Regions from separate parts of the Homo sapiens genome. Here regions 1, 2, 4 and 5 are each linked to region 3. Evidence: promoter capture Hi-C in human tissues and cell types (Jung and others, 2019). All regions are on one chromosome and are shown on one strand. The core of a region is centred on a gene start or on the middle of the fragment in contact, and the rest is flanking DNA. Distances in the headings are between cores, read along the strand shown. Region 1 has its middle 12 kb from the start of CSTB. Region 2 holds the start of SIK1 (salt inducible kinase 1). Region 3 holds the start of WDR4 (WDR4 tRNA N7-guanosine methyltransferase non-catalytic subunit). Region 4 overlaps ABCG1 (ATP binding cassette subfamily G member 1). Region 5 overlaps HSF2BP (heat shock transcription factor 2 binding protein).

What was found. The method cuts DNA at HindIII sites, captures the fragments that hold promoters and counts their contacts. A contact is called where the count stands out against the background at its distance.
Region 1: a fragment that was not itself captured here is called in contact with the fragment with the promoter of WDR4 in region 3 in 1 of the 25 tissues and cell types used here (lymphoblastoid cells).
Region 2: the fragment with the promoter of SIK1 here is called in contact with the fragment with the promoter of WDR4 in region 3 in 6 of the 25 tissues and cell types used here (hippocampus, lymphoblastoid cells, mesenchymal stem cells and 3 more).
Region 4: a contact is called between a fragment that was not itself captured here and the fragment with the promoter of WDR4 in region 3, in 2 of the 25 tissues and cell types used here (hippocampus and spleen).
Region 5: a contact is called between a fragment that was not itself captured here and the fragment with the promoter of WDR4 in region 3, in 3 of the 25 tissues and cell types used here (lymphoblastoid cells, mesendoderm cells and spleen).

Annotation. Positions count from the first base shown.
Region 1 is chr21:43,762,792-43,765,491 of GRCh38, forward strand. No RefSeq gene overlaps it. Among named protein-coding and RNA genes, the nearest start is that of CSTB, 12 kb to the right of the region's middle. RefSeq lists enhancers at 1,157-1,902, 1,903-2,648. The HindIII fragment of the contact is 5,686 bases long and covers 1-2,700 here.
Region 2 is chr21:43,425,881-43,428,580 of GRCh38, forward strand. SIK1 (salt inducible kinase 1) reads right to left here and starts at 1,251. Exons shown (of 14, transcript NM_173354.5): 1 at 1,130-1,251; 2 at 143-312. The coding sequence starts at 298. The HindIII fragment of the contact is 13,239 bases long and covers 1-2,700 here.
Region 3 is chr21:42,878,177-42,880,876 of GRCh38, forward strand. It overlaps WDR4 (WDR4 tRNA N7-guanosine methyltransferase non-catalytic subunit), which reads right to left and starts at 1,363. Exons shown (of 11, transcript NM_018669.6): 1 at 1,231-1,363. The coding sequence starts at 1,319. It overlaps LOC105372817 (a long non-coding RNA gene), which reads left to right and starts at 1,536. Exons shown (of 4, transcript XR_937765.3): 1 at 1,536-1,579. RefSeq lists enhancers at 1-388, 389-1,353, 1,006-1,055, 1,086-1,195, 1,266-1,615. The HindIII fragment of the contact is 11,595 bases long and covers 1-2,700 here.
Region 4 is chr21:42,225,948-42,228,647 of GRCh38, forward strand. The region is part of intron 2 of ABCG1 (ATP binding cassette subfamily G member 1); the gene reads left to right. Among named protein-coding and RNA genes, the nearest start is that of ABCG1, 8.2 kb to the left of the region's middle. RefSeq lists enhancers at 2,229-2,278, 2,469-2,700. The HindIII fragment of the contact is 8,263 bases long and covers 1-2,700 here.
Region 5 is chr21:43,637,550-43,640,249 of GRCh38, forward strand. The region is part of intron 4 of HSF2BP (heat shock transcription factor 2 binding protein); the gene reads right to left. Among named protein-coding and RNA genes, the nearest start is that of HSF2BP, 21 kb to the right of the region's middle. The HindIII fragment of the contact is 7,158 bases long and covers 1-2,700 here.

The sequences.
Region 1 (2,700 bases), core at 136-2,635, 880 kb after region 3:
CAAGGAGAAGGCGGAACCAGGGGCTGCAGAACCAGCCCCTCCCCAATGAGGACCCCCTCTGGACGCCCCTCCCCATGGAGAACACCAGGAGCCACAGACCCCAGACCACAGAGCACACAGGGGAGGGCACGGGGCGGCCGGGGCAGGGTGTCTGCTGCCTCGTTTATGGGATTTGCTCCGCGTCTAGCACACTGCTGCCTGCAGTGCTCCTGTCCCCTGCAGTGGCTACTCTGGGCCTACGGGCCTAATCCTGGTTGGCATGAAAATGTCCTGAGGCTACTGTGACAAATTTCCACAAGCTGAGTGGCTTAAAGGAACACATTTGTTCTCTTACAGTTGCAGGGGCCAGAAGAGTCTAAAAACAGTCAGCAGGGCTGGTTCCTCCTGGAGGCTTAGAGGGGCTGAATCCGTTTCCTGCCTTTTTTAGTATCTGGAGGGCGCCTGCATCCCCTTGCTTATGGCCCCTTCCATCACCAAAGCCAGTAGTGTCACATCTTTCCACCTCTCCCTGACCCTGACCTCCGCCCTTTCTCTTAGAAGGACCCTGTGTGACTTTGGACCTACCTAGATAATTTAGGGTCATCTCTCATTTCAGGAACCTGAATTTAATCCCACCTGCAAGTCCCTTTTGCCAGGTAAGGTCACAAATTCACAGGGTCTGAGGATGAAGATGTGGACCTCTTTGAGGGCCATGATTCAGCCCACCACGTCTGGTGACGAGGGATGGAGTGTGTTCTGCAGCAGTGGGGGCCTATGCAGACCTATCCCGAAGTTCAAGGAAGCAGAGAGGCCGAAGAAAGAAGCTGCCCTTGGCCAGGTGCAGTGGCTCAGCCCTGTAATCCGAGCACTTTGGGAGGCTGAGGCAGGTGGATCACGAGGTCAGGAGTTCAAGACCAGCCTGGCCAACATGGTGAAACCCCATCTCTACTAAAAATACAAAAGTTAGCTGGGCATGGTGGCGGGCGCCTGTAATCCCAGCTGTTCGGGAGGCTGAGGCAGGAGAATCGCTTGAGCCCCGGAGGTGGAGGTTGCAGTGAGCCGAGTTCGCACCACTGCACTCCAGTCTGGGAAACAGAGCAAAGACTCCATCTCAAAAAAAAAAAAAAAAAGAAGAAGAAGAAGAAGCTGCCCAATCCAGTTTCTCAGAAAGAAACATTTAATAGGGACTTCGGAACAGAAGCCATGTCTGTGTCTGGGGCCCACCCATCACCCCCAAGCCTAGGGCTTATGTACCGTAGGGGAGGGGTGCGTGTGGTTCAGAAGGGATGTGCTGGACAGTTGAAGCAGACAGCATCCCAGTCATTTGCCCTAAGGGCAGGATTTAGGGTAAGTACCTGCCTTTACACAAGGAACAATAGATGAGCTGAAAATCTGAGAGGCCTTCCTAGAACTGGGGTTCATCAGACAACAACAGGGTGGGTTAGCCTCCAAGCTGGAACTGCTGTGGCGTGTCCAGGGGTGGGGCATGTGCTGGCTTGGTCATCTCCCCCTCCGAGGGTCTGAGCCAAATATCCAGCAGCAAACATGCTCGGCCCTGAAGCCTCAGCCATTGTGAGGACTCTGGCTGGGCCTTCTTCCCCCGATGGGTGGGAAAGGCCGGCCTCAAGTCCAGGACCTGCCCTTGAGGCCATGCTGGCTTAGGGCTTCAAATCTGGGTTCCTAGGAAAGGGGCTGGGCTCCAGTGGCGTGGGGGTGGGGACGGCAGATGGAGGGAGGCTGGGAAGGGAGAGAAGGAACCTCATGGGCAGTTAGGCTCCCGGGGCTTCTCTGGGGACACCACCAGCAGAGTGTGGTTGTTGACACCTCCCTGGGGCTCGGGGTCTTCCTTTGGCCCCAGTGAACACCTGTCACACACTCGCTGGGATGGACTGACCTTCAGGGTTTGCTGCCACCCGTGTCCTCCACCCTGGTAGGGCCTTTCCAAGACACTTGTGGGGACAGGCCGGGCCTGGCCAGCATCCGGTAGGCTGCACTTTCCGGAGGCCTCTGGGATTACAGGCCACCTCACCCCAGCTGGAATTCTGCCTAAATTACTGCATTGAGGAGATTCCCTCACAAGGTGCGGACTCAGGCTGGCCCTGAAACAGCCGTCACCTCCACGAGGCCGGCCCAGGCCCCTGCGCACTGCCCTGCTCATGCCCCCATCCATGCCAGCTCCCACCAAGCCCGTGCCCCTGCCAAAGAGCTGGGGGAAGGGATGGGAGACAGACTTCTCTTTCCTTATTTCTATTTTTTTTTTTTTTTCCAGACAGGTTCTCACTCTGTCACCCAGGCTGGAGTGCAGTGGTGTGATCTCAACTCACAGCAACTTCTGTCCAAGCAATTGGCCTCAAGCCATCCTCCCGCCTCAGGCTCCCGAGTAGCTGGACCACAGGCACACCACCACGTCCAGCTCATTAAACAATTTTTTTGTAGAGATGAGGTCTTGCCATGTTGCCCAGGCTGGTCTCGAACTCCTGGGCTCAAGTGATCCTTCCTCCTCGGCCTCACAAAGTGCCGGAATTACAGGCGTGAGCCACCACTCCTGGCTCTTATTTCTGTTTTTTCTGGTAACAGCTTTATTGAGTTACAATTCATTCCATATGACTCAGCCATTTGAAGGGTACAGTTCAGGCTGTGATTATAAAGGCAGCACTGTTGAGGACACTGAGCCTGGACAGGTGTCCCCCCCAAATTCAATGATGTCCTGCAAAAAGGTCC
Region 2 (2,700 bases), core at 1-2,500, 550 kb after region 3:
GAACTAAAAACGGTTACTATTTACCCACCACGACAATCAAGCCTGGAGCAGTGAATCTGCATGGGGTCCACCCGCCAAAGGTCGGGTCGCCCCGGGTCCAGTGGGGAGGCCCCGCCGGCTGGGTCCCACCGCCCCCACGCACCTGCGTTTTGGTGACTCGATGCCGCGCCAGCTTCACCACCGCGAAGTTGCCTTTGCCCAGGGTCCGCTCGATGTCGTAAAAACCCACCCGGAGGGGCTTCTGCTGGCCCTGACCCTGGCCCGCGGGGTCCGCGCTGAACTCCGACATGATAACCATGGCTCCGCGCGCACCTGCGGGGCCGCACAGAGCTCAGAGCCCACCAGCGCCCCCGCCGCCCGCGGTCGGCTCCATCCGTGCCCGCGGAGCCCCCAGTCCCCACGGGACGCAGGGACCTGCTCCCACGCCTGTCGCCCCCACTCTATCCACGGGCCCCTCCAGCCCCGTGGGAGGTGTGGACCCGCCCCCGCCGCCCGCTCCACCCGGACCCCCGACCCTCTTGAGCCCCGCGGGGCGCACGGACCCGCTCTCATAGAGGCCCCTGCCGCCCGAGTCCGGTTCCGTCCCGATCCCGGGACCCCCTGAGCCGGGATTCCACACTCGCCTCCCGCCGCCCGCTGTCGGTTCCGTCCCCACCCTCGACCCCTTTAGCACCTCTGGGCGCGGACCCGCTCCCACACCTGGCCCTGCCACCCGAGGTCGGCTCGATCCGGATCCCAGGACCGTCCCCTGCCCCGCTCCCACACCCTGCCCCCGCCGCCCGCGATCCGTCCGGTCCCCACCCCCGACATCCCAGGCACCTCGGGGATCGCGGACCCGCCCCCCACACCCGGTATCTCCGCCCGCGGTCGGCTCCAACCTGACCCCCGGCTCCCCAGCCCCTGAGCCCCGCGGACTCACTCCTACCCCGGCCCCCCAACAAAGGGGAGCCCGAGGGCGGCCAGGCCGCCAACCCCGCCCGCGAACCCCGCGCGCGCAAGGCCAGGGACCCTGCGCGGTGGCTGCAACCCCGAGCCCCGGCCCGGCGCCCGCGCGGAGCCCCCACGGCGGCCACCTCCGCCCGCCCGGAGCCCGCCGCTGCCGCCGCTGCCGCCGCTGCCGCCGCCTCACCTCCGCCGCCACCGGAGCGCCCAGGCCAGGAAGCCGCCCGCTCGGCCGCTGGCGCTGCTCGGGTGCCTACTGCTCCGGCTGCCGCCGCCGCTGCTGCTGCCTCCGGGGCCGCGCCGCATGTCAGCCCGGAGCCGCCGCGCTCCGCCGCACGCGGCGCCCGGCCCCGCCCCGGCCCGCCCCGGCCCGCCCCCCGTAGTCCCCGCCCCCTGCCCCGCCCCCGCCGCCCGGGCGGGGGCCGCCCATTGACGTCGCTTTGACGCCAGAGCGACGCGCGGCCGAGCGCCGGGCGGAGGGAGAGCGGGAGATCGGGCGGTTGCCAAGAGACTGGCGGCTCTGACGCGCGCGGGATGAGGCCGTTGCCCTGGCGACCGCGGGCCGGTGACGTCAGGGGCGCCCGCCGCCCGAGGCCCGCCCGCCTGCGCTCCGCCGGGCGCCCCCTCCCGGGCGCTGGGGGCACTGCGGGCGGCCCCACCGCCGAGGGCGCGCCCGCCCCTCCACGCTCGGGCACTCGGGCCGGGTCCCGCGGGCGCCTTGTGCTCGCTCCCTCCAGGAGGGGACGGCTCTCGGGCAGGGGTCGCCGGCCCCTCCACGCGGCCTGCGTTCGTCCAGACTCAGAGCCTCGGGACGTGCGGGGGCCCGGGGGCCTCGCGGGCTCGCGCGTGGGGCTGGCGGCGCGGATGCCCTGGGGCGCTGCAGACCCCGAGAGGCCGCTTGCCCGCGGGGACGTCAGCCGCTTTTGCTGTTAAAATCTGAAATGTTCAGCAAGTTAGAAACTTGAAACCTAAGGAAGCGTGACCGGCCGCTCTGGAAGCCCCCGCCGCGCGGCCGGTCCCGGCCCCGGCCCTCAGCGGCGCTGGCGTCTGCGCGTCCCGGGGCTGCCCCCGCAGCATGTGGGGCTGGGACCCTCTTCCCGCGCGGGCCCCGGGCGGACGCTGCGGGCGGTGACGGAGCCAGGCCGGCCGCCTGGGTAGGGGACGGGGGCGCGGGACCACTTGCTTGCCCGTGGCCGATGCCTCATCCGAACGGAAAACGTTTTCTTCAGGGGAGACAGAGGCTGTGGGCGAAGGTATTTTTTAAGCCTGAGGACCCATTTGGGAGTTAGATTCTGGATCGAGCCTAGGGTCAGTTTTCCTTGTGTTAAATAACACTACTTCACAGAAGGGGGAACGAGAATTCAGGGGAGTTGGCACAAAACTTGGAACCCTTCTCGGGAGGCTTTCCTGCCTGGACGGACGCCTGGGAGGAGGGCCCGGAGAAACGAGGATGAGCTTCTCCTCATTCGCCCGAGGGTCTGACCACAGATTTCCCAATCGCCACACACACACACACACACACACACACACACACACACACACGGGTTGTTTGGGAGTCAGTTGGTTTTCAAAGGCTTTCAAGGAAATGAAGAGTCCCAAAGTTTTCCTTAATCGTTCAGAGTGTTTTTCTTTGTCCCAGGTTTATATACCAAGAATACGGGGGAATATTTTTAGTTCCTTTCAGCTGAACAGTGTACAACTGCCTTTTTTCCTTTTGGAGGTCCCAACACCCTGTTAATCCGCTCCTAGGAGAACTAA
Region 3 (2,700 bases), core at 113-2,612:
CCAGGCACTTACCAACATAAGAATCACCCATTTTCCATACTGAACCTAAACTTCGGTTTATCCCATCCTCACCCCCTGGCACGTATCTTGTACATATTTATAGCCTTTAAAGCGAGTGCACCAAAAAACTTTCCATATGGAACCGTGGACTTGTCTTCCAAGTCAGAAACTCCACCAGCCACTAGAATTTCCTCAAAATGCAAAGACTGAAGGTAAGCAAATCATGTCTAATATATCCACAGCTCACTCTGGCAGATATTAGACCGTGAGTCTCTAAAACAAAATCATCTGGGATATGTGACGGGTTTCTGAGTACAATTTTTGTGAGACCTAACTTAACATCGAATTGGCTTTCTAAAACCAAACGAACAAAAAATATACAGTATATCTGACAGACACGTCGTCCGTTTCAAATATGAAATCACAAATAACCTGGGAAAGGAAACGAGGGGCTGAAACTGACAGCACTACTAATTGCTCCGAGAGTCCTGAGTTAGGACTGTTCCATCAACAAACATTTACTAAGTTAAAAATCCCCTGCGTCGTCCTAGCACTGGCGATACACTAAGGAAGGAGAATAAAATTACGGAAAGCAAAACCCGAGCCGTGCGAAGGGCCACTAGGGAGGTGCGCACTGCGAGCTCCACGTGCACCCTTGGGTTGGGTAAGTGTCGGAGATGACTTGGAGCCCTAAGGAGCAATTAAGGCCAGGTGAGTGGATGCAGGCCGGGAAGAGGGAACAGACAACCCTGCAAAAAGAGGGAGCGCGCTTGGAGGTCAGTGAGCTCGCAGTGAGTAAGCCCCTCCCTTCTCACCAGGGAGACCCGAGACCCGCTTCTTCCCAGTTCTGCAGAGCGTGTTCGGCCGGGCCTTGCTGACTGGTCAGCGTCGCCCCACGTGCTCTACCTACCCGGTCCCCGCCGGCGCCGCGGAGACCGGAAGCGACCCGGCGGCGCTAACCGGGCAAGAACACCGCAGACCAGCCATCTAGTGCAAGGAGCGCGCCGGAGCCGGGGAGCGGACGCCGAGAGCGGACGGCGAAAGCGGACCCTCCAGGCGCAGAGACGCGGCCAGGCCGAGACTGCGGCGGAGGACTCGTGGGCTGGAGCGGAGTTCCCCGGGGTCACCCCAGAGTGGGTGCGACCAGGCGGTGCGGGAGAAGCGGGGTCGCCAGGACCCGACGCGCGCCCGCAGCCTGGTCTCCCTGTTCCAAGACCAAGGCCCCCTCACCTGCTTGCTATGGAGGTGGCCAGGAATCGGCTGCCGCCCCGCACCACCAACGTCTGCCCGCACAACGCCAGTCCCACAGAGCCCGCCATGTACCCGCCCGCCTCACCGCCATACACATGTGCCAGCCCAGAGCCTCTTCCTGTCCGCACCGGTCGGTGACGCCAGGCGCAGACGCCGAGAGATGACGTATACCCCACGTACCGCGCATGCTCAAGGACGAGCCTGCCTTGAGCATGCGTGAAAGGTGCTGTGACCGCCCTCCGGGTTGTGGCTGGTGGCCTTCGGTGTTTCGGGTTTGGCAGTTCACTCACCAAGGTGATCTGATGGAGTGCACTTCGCACGATTCCAAGTACTTGCCTAATGTTCATCCTTTCCTCTAGACGGGGTAGGGCTGGTTCTGGATCTTTTTCCGCGGTAGCTGGAGAGACGTAGGACCTGATGATGGCTACTAGATGCCTGGTAAATGATCCTTCAAGAAGTGAATGAACCGGGGGCCGTGGCTCACATGAAGTCAGCAGTTCGAGAGCAGCCTGACCAATATGGTGAAACCCCGTTTCTACTAAAAGTACAAAAATTTGTTGGGCGTGGTGGCGTGCGACTGTAGCCCCAACTACTTGGGAGGCTGAGACAGAAGAATTGCCTGAACCCGGGAGGCGGAGGTTGCAGTGAGTCGAGATCGCCCCCGCTGCACTCCAGCCAGGGCGACAGAGCGAGACTCTCTCTCAAAAAAAAAAAAAATGTCCAAGATGTGGTCATGGGTGAGGGTGTCTCGGGTGGCGTCAAGTCTGAGGTCGCTAGAAGTAAGCCTACTGAATCTTTGCACTTAGACAAGCCACAGATGCCTTAAAATCTCCGAACTGTAGTGATATTTTCAACCCAAACTATGGTTAGTTTCCAGTGTTCATCCCAAGATCCCCAAAAGCCTCTTACAATCCCAGCATCAGGCACAAAATCTAGGATCTCACGGTCTGTTTTAGATTGGCTTGTCCGGTGCAGCTCCTCTTGATCCAGAGACTTACAAACTAAAAAGATTAATTTTCTCTCCCGTGCACGCAATATATGATGGTGAGCCGGGACCAGATAACCACAATAAATACTTGCATGTGAAAATGAGAAGAGGAGGAGACACAGTAATCACTGGTCCAAAGCAATTCTGAAATCCTACTGGAAGATGTTTTCAGGCCCTACAAGAATAAGAAGTCTTAACCAGGCCCGAGTTCTGCTTCCTGGGAGTATCTCCCCAGGCTGTATCTCAGCACAGCTCTTGCCTCTGCCCTCTTGGGTGTCCCTCCTTTTCCAGCACCTTCTTGGCCATGTTGAAGAATGTGCCCTTTGAGAAACTTTCTCAACCTCCTTCCTGTCATTAGCAAATTGTGAGCCCACAGACCTTTTTTCACTCTAAACTGTTCTGTCCACATTTTGGCAGCTGGTGGTGCTTTGTTCACTACAAGTCCCTTAAAAGCTTTATGG
Region 4 (2,700 bases), core at 1-2,500, 650 kb before region 3:
GGAGGAGCCTCTGAAGGAGGCAACAGGTTGTTTGGGCAAAATCGGGGTCTGGAGGTTGAGAGGCTGAGCTTCTCTTCCCAACGCCGTCACTGCTGTGGTCAATTTATTCTATTGCTTTCTGCCTGAATTTTCCTCTCCTATAAAATGAACAGGTTGGATTTGGTGATCTCAAAGTTCATGGTTGCTCTGAAATTCTGCGATGTCATTATGGAGAATTTCACAAAGATTGACGGGTGTCAAAGTGTGCCTGTTTCTGGCATGTGCTGAGAGAGTCCTCTTTTGTGGATGCTGTTCATGTCCATCTTTCAAGATGGAACTGTTTTTCAACCGCCCAGAGCAAAATGGGGGACAGGTGCCCCCCTCCCAAGCGTGAAGTGTTAAAAAGTGGCCAGTGACCTAGACTGACCTCTCCAGAGACCCATCTTGAAAGGATTCTTTTGTGGGTGGTTGTGGTAGGCTAGAAAGAAAACTAAACTGTTGAAAAGAGCTGATACATAAAAATAGAAAAAACAGAGAGGATAGAGCTCAGGAGGTGTCTGGAACGCCACACAGTGCAGGAGTTTGCCACTAGCTTGTTGCATGTTACAGGAAATTGATGAGTGGTAGTTTGAGTTTTCTCAGCAACCTTCCCTAGCTCTAGAGTTTCACAGTTTGTGGAGTTAATGCCGCCCTGGGTTGGTGTGTTTTTTTCAAGCCTGATCTGTTTCTTCTGTGGAATTTATCCTTCATCTCCTTATGCTCCAAGCACTCATTGTCTGCTCCTAAGTGGATCAGACAGGTGGGTTGGGGGAGCTGATAGGCAGAGGACGTGTCAGACTTCATCAAGAAACCATGGTCCCTAGTTTCTACTGAATCATGGAAAGCAATTTGAAAATCTGGGAGGACTTTGGAACAATACAAATGACTCAGGTACCCCTGGAATATGCTAATATTTTAGGACTTTGAACTTAAAACTGGATTCAGCCCTTCTTTCATTTTGAAGAAGACCAATCAAGACTCACGTTTTAAATTTTCAGTTGTCTTTCTTCTTTTCCCTATTATCTTCTTTTTGTTTTTCTACCCTCTTGAAGCTAAGTCTTTGAGACCCTTAGCATGGGCAGTCCCATCTTCATTGTAATCACAATTTTAGAGCTTTGAAAGACTGGTCCCTGGGATCTGCAAGCCCAGTTGGTGGCTGGGTAACTGTATGTCTGTGTTTGCACAAGCAGAAACAGATTCAGTACCTTCTCAACAGACAACAGTATAGCACTGTGATGTGATACTTGCATTTTCAGAGCATACCAGCCTGTTCTGTTAAGAAAGCAGCTCTGTGGCAGGCTCAGATGTGGGCCCACTCCTTTGATCATGTTGAAATTTCAACATAGGGTTCTAGAATTCTCCTTCTCAACTTAAAGAAATATTTTATAGAAAAATGTATCAAGAAACCAGGACACCGCGTCATGTTTTGGCGTCGTTTGTCTATATAGACAAATTATGGCAAAGCAGTGAGCAACATAGAGCGATTCCTGTCCGTCTGTTATGTGTGGCCTTGGAAATGTTGTCATGACAGTAGAAAATGCTGGGAAAGGTGTCTTGTAAAATGAAGATGGGTTGTAATGCAGAAATGAAGACATCTGAAACCTGGTGGCATCTGGGTTTGAAATGTCTTGGCATAAGCCTGGCACACAGGTGTAGCCAGTGTTTGCAAGCAGTGAGTATCGCTCCCCTACCCAGTGTGTTTGTCCATTTTCACACTGCTATAAAGAACTACCTGAGACTGGGTCATTTTTAAAGGAAAGAGGTTTAATTGGCTCACAGTTTGGCATGGTTGGGGAGGGCTCAGGAAACTTACAATCATGGCAGAAGGTGAAGGGGAAGCAAGGCATGTCTTACATGGTGGCATGGGGTGAGGGGAGAGAGAGAGAGAGAGCATAAAAGAACCCACACACATTTAGAACATTAGATCTCATGAGAACTCCCTCACTATCATGAGAACAGCATGAGGGAACCGCCCCCAGGATCCAATCACACCTCTCGCCCAGTCCCTCCCTTGACACGTGGGGATTACAATTCAAGATGAGATTTGGGTGGGGACACAGAGCCAAACCACATCACCCAGTATGTGACTTGTCACCCCTATATTCTCTAAGTGTTTAAACTGATCACATGAATCATCACAGTTAGCCAGCTGGTAATGGCTTGTAGTGAGGGAGGAGCCCCAACTGTCCATTCTTAGGAGCGCAGCCCGGGCGGGGTGGCCACCAGATAGAGACTTGCCCTACAGTAACCTTGTGTGCTCAGGCAGGGGAAGAGCCTGCAATGGGCCGCCGAGGGACCTGCCCATGACTCAGAAATGGGTGGAGCCAGAGGGGTTGACAGACAGGATATGTCTGCTGTGTTCCAGCTGCTGGTTTCTGCAGGGGCCAAGGGTAGTTTTGCTGTCTGGCTTCCTACCCACTGCCCTCCCCAGCCACAGCAGCACCTGCGTCTGTCTTCCCTCTCCCTGCTCCTCCTCCCCTGCCTGCCCCATCCTTTCCTTTGTTCCTGGTGCCTACAATTCAGAGTCTAGATGGTTTATCACTCCAGCACACAGAATAGAAAGGAAACTGAGACAAAGGTGGTTAAGGGACTTGCCCATGCTCCTGGGCTTGAAAGGGGCAGGGCTGGGATGAGGACAGCAATTTCTAGCTCTGTGCACTCCGACACAGTGGCCATGCCTTG
Region 5 (2,700 bases), core at 27-2,526, 760 kb after region 3:
CCCAGCATTTTAAGGAACCAAGGTGGGAGGTTCACTTGACAAGAGAGAGAACTTGGAGACCAGCCTTGGCAACACAGCAAGACCCTATCTCTACAAAAACTTAAAAAAAAAAAAAATTAGCTGTATGGTGGCATATGCCTATAGACTCAGGAGGTTCAGGCAATTGGATCCTTTGGGCCCAGGAGTTCAAGGCTGCAGTGAGCTTTGATCACACTACTGCACTCCAGCCTGGGCTACAGAGTGAGGCCCTGTCTCTGGAAAAAAAAAAAAGAAAGAAAAAAGGAACTCAGCAAACTAGGAATAGAGGGGAACCTTCTCAATTTTATAAACGCATCTGCAAAAACCTACAGCTAAAATCATAATTAACGCTGAAAGATTGAATACTTTCCCCTGAGATCAGGAACAAGGCAAAGATATCCACTCTCACCACTCTTATTCAGCACAGTGCTGTAGTGCTGGAAGGCCTGGCTACGCAAGAAGGAAAGAGGAAGAAATAAAAGGTATACAAAGCAGAATGAAGAACTAGAACAGCCCCTATTTTCAGATGACATGATTGTCCATGTAGAAAATCTCAAGAAATCCATAAAAGAACTCCTAGAAGTCAAAAAGAGTTCAGAAAGACTACAGGGGCCGGGTGCGGTGGCTCACACCTGTAATCCCAGCACCAAGAGACCAAGGCAGGCGGATCACTTGAGGTCAGGAATTCGAGACCAGCCTGGCCAACATGGTAAAACTGTGTCTGTACTAAAAATACAAAAATTACCCAGGCATGGTGGCGCACATCTGTAATCCCAGCTACTCGTGAGGCTGAGGCAGGAAAATTGCCTGAACCTGAGAGGCAGAGGTTGTAGTGAGCTGCGATCACACCACTGCACTCCAGCCTGGGGGACAAGATAAACAAACAAAAAGCAACCACATTTCTATGTGCTAATTAAAAAATGGAAACCAAAATTAAAAACACAATACCATTTACGGTTACTCCAAATAAAATTAAATACTTAGGTAAAAATCTAATACAAATGTGTATGCTGAAAATAATTAGGTAAAAATCTAACACAAATCTAGATGCTGAAAATAATTGTAAACTGCTGATGAAAGAAATTAAAGACAACTTAAAGAAATGGAGAGACATGCTATGTTTATGAATTGAAAGATTCAACATAGTAAAGATATCAATTCTCTACAAACTGATCTACAAACGTACCACAATTTCTATTAAAATTCCAGCAAGGTTTTTGTAGACATAAACAAGCTTACTCTAAAATTTATGCGGAAAAGCAAAGAAGCTAGAATAGTTAGGGCAACTCTGAAAAAGAGGAATGAAATGGGAAGAATCATTTTATCCAGTGTTAAGGCTTACTATGTCGCTACAGTAATCAGAATAATGTATTATTGGTGCAGGAACAGATCAAAGTACCTGAGTAGAGAACCCACAACAGACCCAGGCCAGTATGACTGAATTTTGACAATGGTGCAAAAGCAATTCAATGAAGGAGAGAGAGTCTTTTTGAGAAACAGTGCTGAAGCAACTGGACAACGATAAGCCAAAGAAAAAAATATTAACTTGAACTTAATCCTCATACCTTCTACAAAAATTAACTCAAAATGAATCATAGACTTAAATGTAAAATGTAAAACTATAAAACCATTAAGAAAAAAGAATGGGAGAAAATTGTGGTGACCTAGAGCTATGTGAAAAATTCTTAGACATAACAACAAGAAAACAGTCTATAAAAGGAGAAATCAGTAAATTGGACTTCATTAAAATTTAAAACATTCGCTTTTTGAAAGAACCTGTGAAGATGAAAAGAGCAGCTACAGACTGGGAGAAAAGACTTGCAAAACATATACTCAGCAAAGGACTTCTATCTAGAATATATCAAGAGCTCAAACGCAAAAGTAAAAAAAGAAAAAATCCAATTAGAACATGGGTAAAAGACACGAAAAAAACATTTCATAAAAGAGAATACACAGACAGAAAATAAATGCATGAAATGATGCTCAACATCATTAGCTGTTAGGGAAATGCAAATTAAAACCACAACAAACCTATCAAAATGACTAAAATTCAAAATAGAATAACACCAAATACTGGTTAGGACATGGAGAAAGTGAATCACTCATACATTTTGGTGGGACTCTAAAATGGTACAGACACTCTGGAAAACAATTTGGCAATTTCTTCCAAAACTAAATGTGCACTTACCATACAACCCAGTAATTGTACTCTCGGGCATTTATCACACAAAAATAAAGACACACATTCACACAAAAACCTATACATGGATGTTACTAGTGTCTTTATCAGTAATAGAAAAAAAAACCGTAAGAACTATTCAAACTTCTTTCAGTGGAGGAATTACAACATATTGCAAACAAATTGCAACATATACATACCATGGAATATGAGGCAATAAAAATATCTAACGATACATGCAACTTGGATGTATCTGAGTGAAAGTCAGTCTCTGCCAGGCACCCATGGCTCATGCCTGTAATCCCAGCACTTTGGGAGGACAAGGCCAAAGGATCAACTGAGCCCAGGGGTTCAAGACCAGCCTGAGTAACATAGCGAACCTGTCTCTACAAAAAAAATTAAAAATTAGCTGGGCATGGTGACATGTGCCTGTGGACCTAGCTACTTGGGAGGCTGACATGGGAGGACTGCTTTGGCCCAGGAGGTCAAGGATGCTGTGAGCC